Regions from separate parts of the Homo sapiens genome. Here regions 1 and 2 are each linked to region 3. The links are contacts of gene promoters, found by promoter capture Hi-C in blood cells and fetal thymus (Javierre and others, 2016). All regions are on one chromosome and are shown on one strand. The core of a region is centred on a gene start or on the middle of the fragment in contact, and the rest is flanking DNA. Distances in the headings are between cores, read along the strand shown.

Region 1 (2,700 bases), core at 107-2,606, 2.5 Mb before region 3:
CTCGCAATGATGGAGATTCTGGGCCAGATGAGGGTGTGATGGAGAAAGTGTTAACCATAGAGAACTAAACTGAGAGCTTTTTCATAAACTGTACCTCAATAAAGTTTAACACCAATGAAGATATTTCTGGAGGAGGCAGAAACTGGTAGCCACCCTCTATGGCTCATTTCCCTCACCCCCGTATCCAACCATCACCAAATGTCACCGTGTCTGTACTTGCAATACCCTAGTCTTCTCTCCTTACCCACTGCTGAGGCCCCAGTTCGGGTCTCACCTCCTGCAGGCACGATGACAACAGCACCTTAGGGGTGCCCAGTCTTTCCTTCCTCCTGCAACCCAGGGCGTTGATGCGGTTATTCAGCTACACACCTTTACTGTGTGCTGAGTGCTGTGCATCCGCAGACACATTGGAAAAGCTCCCTGTCTTCTTCACCTTGCAGATGGTATAATGATTATCTCCAAGACTTCCTGAAACCCAATCGGACCAGGTCATTCCCTTGCCTGAAAGCCCCATGCCTTCAAGAAATTCTTTACCATGACCCACAATGCCCTCCAGCCCACCCAGGCTCCTTCTCCACCCCACCCCCAACAGTACAGAATTACTAGCACTTCCTTCACTGCGCCCTCCCCTTTCACGCCTCTATGCTTTTGCACAGGCTGTCTCCTCTGCCTAGAAATCCCTTATCCCCTCTCCATCTGGCACACAAGACAAGTTCTCCTATTACTTTTTCTCCCTCTCTCCTGCTCCACCCCTCACCGCCTTACACACACACACACACACACACACACACACACACAAATACAGCACTCCAGAATTGTTTGCCAATGGAGGCAGCCTCCGGGGCCAGATGTTAGCCAGGGCTTTCCAAACTTCTCCCCAAGCACTCCTTAAGAAAGTGAAGAGGAAATGGGACCCCAGGGCTTAGGAGTGTGAGGGCCTTGAACTCGCTCTAAGCAAGCAGGGCATTTCAAGAGTTTTATCTTTATATTTTATGCAGAAGTTGTATTCCAAATATATTCTTGTTCGTTTTAATACAAAATATGATTTTTTCTACATCTTCAAATCGATGATCCAGAAAGATGCTCCTTGTTTATTTGTTGTGCTCTCAAATTAGCTGCTCCGCCTCGCCGCGGGGACCCTAAGCGAGACCTGGATGCAGTTCCAAGTACACACCCCGAAGGAACAGCTGGGCTTCGCTTCCCTGGGAGCTGGAGGATGGTGGGGGTGGGGCGGGGTCAACCGGCTGGTGGCCCCGCCCCTCCCCCGCCCGCTGCGGGGGCGGAGTTGCTTGGGTCCCGCCCACGGGGGCGGGGAGGCAGCCGCGGCCACCGGCAGCTCGGATTCGGCTGGTTCCGGGTTGAGAGGCTGCGCTGGACCGAAGCGGTGGCTGCTAAGCTCGCGGGGGTAAGGGGTCGCGCTGGGCCAGGGTTTGGGGCCGGGATCCGGCAGCTGAGCGGGCCGGCACCCCTCCTCTTCTCTGCCGGTCACAGCCAATGTACGGCTCGGCCTGGCTGCCCCCTCCCCCAGGATTCCCCATCCCCAGCTTCTCGCCCTCCCCGCACCGCCCCCACCCCGGGATTTCGACCCCCTTAAGGGCTCCACCCCGCTCCGGGATCCCCTTCTCCCAGCTCCTATCCCTTAGGACTGCCCCGCCCCCTAGAACCTCCCCGTCAGGATCTCCGTCCCTCAGCCGCTCACAGCCTCCTCCCAGCGCCCATCGCCTTGAGCTGCCCACTACCTCTAGACTGCCCTCCCGGGCTGGCGTCCCACGGAGTCTCAGCCGCGCACCCCTTCCTCGCGTTACCCTCCTTCCGGACAGCACCCCCTCCCTTCTCCGGTAGCTCCTACCCCTGCCTGTGCGGGCCTCGTCCCCGCGCCCAGCCCTCGGTGCTGCCTCCGACAGCGCCGCGCTCTCTCAGCCGCCCCCCTGCCCCTCGGGCCCCCCTCTCTGCTGCCCCTGGCGCCATGGCGTGCAGCCTCAAGGACGAGCTGCTGTGCTCCATCTGCCTGAGCATCTACCAGGACCCGGTGAGCCTGGGCTGCGAGCATTACTTCTGCCGCCGCTGCATCACGGAGCACTGGGTGCGGCAGGAGGCGCAGGGCGCCCGCGACTGCCCCGAGTGCCGGCGCACGTTCGCCGAGCCCGCGCTGGCGCCCAGCCTCAAGCTGGCCAACATCGTGGAGCGCTACAGCTCCTTCCCGCTGGACGCCATCCTCAACGCGCGCCGCGCCGCGCGACCCTGCCAGGCGCACGACAAGGTCAAGCTCTTCTGCCTCACGGACCGCGCGCTTCTCTGCTTCTTCTGCGACGAGCCTGCACTGCACGAGCAGCATCAGGTCACCGGCATCGACGACGCCTTCGACGAGCTGCAGGTGCGCTACCCGGCCTGCCTGGGGAAGGGGCGGGGCCGGGCTGGAGGTGGGGCCGGGCGGGGGGTGGGGTCAGGGCTGGACCGCGGGCCAGGCCCAGTCAGAATGGTCCTGGGGCGGGGCCGCCAGCAAGGTCAGGGCCCTATCAGGAGTAACGCGGGGCAGGGAGGGGCGGGGCCGCCGCATGGCGGGGCCGTGGGGGCGGGGCCTTGGGCAGTCCGGACCCTGAGGGATCTGAGACAGACCTGGAGTACCGGCTGGTCCGCGGTTAGGGAGAAGTCGGGGATGCGGATGGGATGGCGGAAACAAGTGAGATCAGAACTGGACCA
Region 2 (2,700 bases), core at 123-2,622, 2.8 Mb before region 3:
GGATTGCAATTAATCCCTTTCTGTGCACACTAGATAAAAAATAAATGACCTTCGCGCTCATGCCAAAAGGAATTCCTTTCTCTTTTATTTCCATGTCTCTGTGACACTTACCACTTTCTACACTGTATGAGACATTGTATGAGAAGGATGTGCGTATCTATGTGTGTCCCAGAGGAGATTACAGCCTCTCTGATGGCACCCATGCTGGGTTATTTGAAAAAATGAGCTCTCTGTGTCATCCCAACAAGTCTGGGTGACATAAAAAATGCCCACTCAAAGGAGATCATTAGCTGCTTCCAAGTGGGAATGACACAACTGAATTGAGAATGGAGAGATGGTGGTATTTTTCATTTTGGGCAATCTGACTGGACTGAAGAGAAACAAGACAAGGGTAATAAAAATTAAAGTCTTGCCCTAAAGGCCTCCATATGCTTAGGAAGAGGCTTAAAGCACAACTCATGGCTACCTGGCAGCTTCCTACTCATCCTTCAACCACCAGCTCAAATGTCACCTCCTTTGATAGGAGTTCCTTGACATGCCCTTTTCATGTCCTGCCCTCCAAGAATTGCCTCCCTGATCCTATATCACCAAAGCAATTGGTACATACCTCTAATATAGGTATTATCCTACACTATTGTAGTTACCTGTTACTATATCTGACACCCACATTATACTATATTACTAGAATCAGTATTGTATGTTACTAATTTCTGTATCCACAGTGCTCAACCCAGTATCTGATAAATAGCAGGGCCATTAAAAAGTTTTATTACCATGTATTAAAATGATAAACCTGGCGTATCAAAAGCCTAATGGGATACAGATATTCCATAATTTATATTAAACTAAACTATTTCTGTCTACCTACATTACTGCTATAAGCACTCAGAGAGATCACATATGTAGAAAGATTTTGCCTTTCATGAAATTTCTTTTTGAACCTAAAGAATTCGCCTTTCATGAAATTTCTTTTTGAACCACAACCTTATTGATGCATGAGTTCAAACACATTTCTGTCACCCTCTCACACAAGGAGCAATTCATCAATCATTTATAGAGTACCAGCTATACCCTGTTTGGAAGCTACAGATCTACCAGTAGCTGGGACTGACAGTCCCTACCTTCAATAAAATTACAGTCTAGTGAGACAGACAGTCAATAAGCAAGCAAAGACATTTGCGTTCCTGCACAAACAGGACACTACAACAAAATAGGCAATTAGCAGTCACACCAGGCCCAAAGCTCAGAGTCTCAGATAATAGGTATTTTCTCCTGGAAAGACTTGAAAGTCCCAAAGGTTTGTTTCAAATAGAAATCGGAAAGCCCCAGGGACCACATATCACCATAACCTTTTTTTTCTAAGGAACCATAACCGTAACTTTCTAAGGAAGTTAGACCGAAGTATGGATAGCAGGCTATTGTGGGGAGAGGGAGGCCAACAGAGTCGGCCAACAGCCGGGTGACTTCACACAGAAGTGAACAAGGGAAAATGGACCGGGGCATTCCTCAGTTCCGAGATGACCAGGAATATCGAGCCTCATTAGGACCAGCAATTTCTAAGAGTACCCCTTTACTGAGTGCCCACAAGGTGCCAGGCACAGTGCTGTGTTCCACATTCATAATCTCACTGAAGCCTCCAGGCAGCAACTGGAGTCTCATTAGGTGTTGAGCTGCATTTCACTGATCTGTAACTTCCACTGCAAAGATCAGAAAGAGAGAAAGAGGGCCGGGCGCGGTGGCTCACGCCTGTAATCCCAGCACTTTGGGAGGCCGAGGCAGGGAGATCACAAGGTCAGGAGTTCGAGACCAGCCTGGCCAACATGGTGAAACCCTGTCTCTACTAAAAATACAAAAAAAAAAAAAAAATAGCCAAGCGTGGTGGCTCGTACCTGTAATCCCAGCTACTCGGGAGGCTGAGGCAGGAGAATTGCTTAAACCCAGGAGGCGGAGGTTGCAGTGAGCTGAGATCGTGCCACTGCACTCCAGCCTGGGCAACAGAGCACGACTCTGTCTCAGAAAAAGAAGAAAAAAAAAAGAAAGAGAGAAAGAGCATGATTTAAATAGTGCAGCCAGTTGCGTTCACTATCTGTTCGAGAATAAGCATGTGGTGGTGGCACCTAGGACTTCGCTATTCACCAGGTTGGTCTTGATTCCCTCGTGCCTCTCTTTCCACTAAGTGTGAGTAAAGTGTCTTTCATACCGCACAGTCCCTAATACAAGCGAATTCTCATCTAATGTTCAAACAAGAAAGCCCAGCTGTGCTGATTAGTTTATTTATTGAAAGGCAGCGTGTTAGTTTCTGAAACGGCTCCTTGCCAAAGGATTTTCAAACTAACTGTGATTTTTGGCTAAAGTGATTTTCACCCTTAGAATATTATTATCTGATAAGGTATGACTGCACTATATCCTCAATTACCTAAAGGGAAACTGAGTGTTTATGAAGATTCACTTAAGGTTACACAACTAGCAAGTGGTAGAGTTAGGGTCTAAGCCGAGATCCCTTTTCTCCAATCATTTTTCTTAACCATGTCTTATAGCCTCCTCTATGTGTGCTAGTCATCCAAACTCTTAAGATGACAGTACGGGAGAATGGAAAGAACATTAAGGCAGGAGTGAGCAGACTGGGGTTCTAGTTCCACTCCTGCCACTAATCAGCTGTGTTACTTTGGACAAGTTATGTAGCCCCTGTGGCTGCCTAGC
Region 3 (2,700 bases), core at 77-2,576:
TCACAGCTAGATTTTCAGAGCCAGGAGCCCAGGCCCCTGGAGAGGAAGAGATTGTACAAAGTCACTCCCCAGGTAGCCCAGGGTAATGATGGTAAAAATAATAGTTGCCCCTTCTGGCTTCTAACCAGGAGTCATCTCACTCAACCTCACCACAACCCTTTTTACAGTTGAAGACACTGAGGCTCAGGAAGGTGACCTGTAGCTTGTGGAGCTGCATTTCTAAACACGGCCTGTCTCAACTGCCTGTCATCAGGACAGGGTGTCAGGACCTGGGGCTAAGGATGGGACCCAGGAATCAGAAACAGACCCAAGTCAGAAGCAGAGAAGCAGCAAAGCGGGACTGGATGCCTAACCCAGACTGGGCAGAGCTGGGAGCGCCCTAGCCTCAGGGCGGGTGCAGACAGGGGGTCACGAAGCCGGATCTCAGTGACAGAGTCCGCCACCTCTTTCTTTCCAGGGTACAGACCAGAGGAGCCTAGTGGGAGGGGAGCAGGCAGATTCTTTCCCTCTCTGGCAGGGGCATGTATCATACCGGGGAGTGGAGGAGGATAAGGGCGGCATCTTTCTTGGGTTGGTCCCTTGGGCATCCACATGGGAGTGGCCCTCCGTCGGTTCCCTGGTCCAGGGTCCCCGGTCTTACCGGGACAAGGACAGCAAGACGGGAGACGGCAGCCCCATCCCTTAGCTTCGGCTGCCATCTGGTGGCCAAAGCGCAGAACTGCACCATGTGGAACCACCGGATCCCCCCACCCAGCCCCGGCCGGGCCTCCCGGGGGCACGAGGGGCGTGGCACGACTCCCACAGCCATCAGCCTGAGGACCCTGCCCTCAGCCGCCTCAGTCTGAGGGGAAGGCATGGCCCTGACCTTAGAGACCCCAATTTGGCGATGGGGCATCACATCCCTCCGGGCATCTCAGAGCTGCCTGCCCGAGGGAGGCGAAGCAGATGGAAAGCCCCCCAGCCACGTCTCTCAGTCAGAGGAAACGGGTCTCCTCTTCGGCCAGCCGGGTCCTCTTCCCCCGGGTGCCGCCTGGCTGTGCGACCCGGCAGTCCTCCCGCCTCTCCGGGCCTCAGCCTCCTCTCCTGGACAGTCCCGTGGGCTTCCGGGAGCCCGGTGTCACACCGCCCCGCGTGTCGCAGGTGGTCATCGTGGTGACAGACGGGAGGCCCCAGGACAGCGTGCAGGACGTGTCTGCGCGGGCCCGGGCCAGCGGCGTCGAGCTGTTCGCCATCGGAGTGGGCAGCGTGGACAAGGCCACGCTGCGGCAGATCGCCAGCGAGCCGCAGGACGAACACGTCGATTACGTGGAGAGCTACAGCGTCATCGAGAAGCTGTCCAGGAAGTTCCAGGAGGCCTTCTGCGGTGCGCGGGCAGGCGGGGGCGGAGCCAGGGCAGGGGCGGAGAAGGGGAGAGCGGCGGGGCGGGGCCAGGGCTGGAGGCGGGACCGAGGCTGAGGCGCAGACGGAGCCAGCGCCGGCGCAGGGCAGGGGCGGGGCCGGGGGGGGGGCAGAGGCGGAGACGGGAGAGAGATAGAATGTCAGTGCCGGGGCGGGGCCGGGGAGGAGCCGGGGGCGGAGGCGGAGACGGAGAGAGTCAGCGCCGGGGCGGGGCAAGGGTGGGGCCAGGGCAGGGGCGGAGACGGAGAGAGCGGCGGGGCGGGGCCAGAGCAGGCAGGGGGCGGGGCCAGGGCAGGGGCGAAGACGGAGACAGTCAGTGCCAGGGCGGGACCGGGGCGGAGGCGGAGAGAGTCGGCTCCAGGGGCAGGGCCAGGGCTGAGCGGGACGAGGCCGTGGCAGGCGCAGAGACTGAGAGTCCGCGCTGAGGCGGGCCAAGGCTAGGGGCGGAGCCAGCGCTAAAGTGAAGACAGAAAAAGTCAGCGTCGGGGGGCGGGGCCACATCAGAGGGCGGGGCCTGGCTGGGGCGGTAGCCTATAAAACGGCGGGAACTGAGTTACACGGCAACATCAGGGCGGGGCCAGGGCTAGGGACACGGCTTAGGTGGATTGGGGGTGGAACCTGGATTAGACTGAGGTGGTGCCAGCACCAGGGGTGGGGCCGTAGCTGGGGCGGAGCCTGATAACGGAGGAGGGTCTCCAGCCCCAGGTTAAGGGAGTTGGGGAGAGGCGATGTTAAGAGTCCTTTTATGGCCGGGCGCGGTGGCTCACGCCTGTAATCCCAGCACTTTGAGAGGCCGAGGCGGGCGGATCACGAAGTCAGGAGATCGAGACCATCCTGGCCAACATGGTGAAACCGGTCTCTACTAAAAATACAAAAAATTAGCCGGGCGTTGTTGCGGGCGCCTGTAGTCCCAGCTACTCGGGAGGCTGCGCCAGGAAAACGGCGTGAACCCGGGAAGCGGAGCTTGCAGTGAGCCGAGATCGTGCCACTGCACTCCAGCCTGGGCGACAGAGCGAGACGACTCCGTCTCAAAAAAAAAACAAAACAAAAAAAAAAACCGCACACACAAAAAACAACAGAGCCCTTTTATGTGGCAGAATCCTGGCAGGGACCAAGGAGGGCCCAGAGCTCAGGAAGGAGAGCTCCCAGAAAACCTACACATGTTTCTGTGTCGTGAGTTTTGGGTGCCAGAGTTTTCTGTGATGCGGGAGAGTCTGAGAGGCCTGGGCACTGGCAGGAGAAGGTTCAGAGCCCTTCTCGGAGGGGAGGTGTGTGTGTGGGTCTTTGGGATGTGACCCGCAG

Evidence for each region. Contacts are between HindIII fragments. The CHiCAGO score rates a contact against its expected background, and 5 or more counts as called.
Region 1: a contact is called between the fragment with the promoter of TRIM62 here and the fragment with the promoter of MATN1-AS1 in region 3, in 1 of 17 cell types (fetal thymus). The highest score is 6.6, in fetal thymus.
Region 2: a contact is called between a fragment that was not itself captured here and the fragment with the promoter of MATN1-AS1 in region 3, in 1 of 17 cell types (total CD4 T cells). The highest score is 5.1, in total CD4 T cells.

Annotation. Positions count from the first base shown.
Region 1 is chr1:33,180,699-33,183,398 of GRCh38, reverse strand. It overlaps TRIM62 (tripartite motif containing 62), which reads left to right and starts at 1,356. Exons shown (of 5, transcript NM_018207.3): 1 at 1,356-2,374. The coding sequence starts at 1,967. It also overlaps a transcript of ZNF362 not described here. RefSeq lists silencers at 1,182-1,491, 1,722-1,791, 2,382-2,581 and an enhancer at 2,664-2,700. The HindIII fragment of the contact is 3,969 bases long and covers 1-2,700 here.
Region 2 is chr1:33,474,992-33,477,691 of GRCh38, reverse strand. All of the region lies in intron 1 of ZSCAN20 (zinc finger and SCAN domain containing 20), which reads right to left. Among named protein-coding and RNA genes, the nearest start is that of ZSCAN20, 3.7 kb to the right of the region's middle. The HindIII fragment of the contact is 4,752 bases long and covers 1-2,700 here.
Region 3 is chr1:30,717,398-30,720,097 of GRCh38, reverse strand. MATN1-AS1 (MATN1 antisense RNA 1) reads right to left here and starts at 1,326. Exons shown (of 4, transcript NR_034182.1): 1 at 533-1,326. MATN1 (matrilin 1) reads left to right here. Exons shown (of 8, transcript NM_002379.3): 3 at 1,141-1,363. RefSeq lists silencers at 714-803, 1,364-1,883, 1,924-2,103 and enhancers at 461-1,036, 1,134-1,303. The HindIII fragment of the contact is 4,958 bases long and covers 1-2,700 here.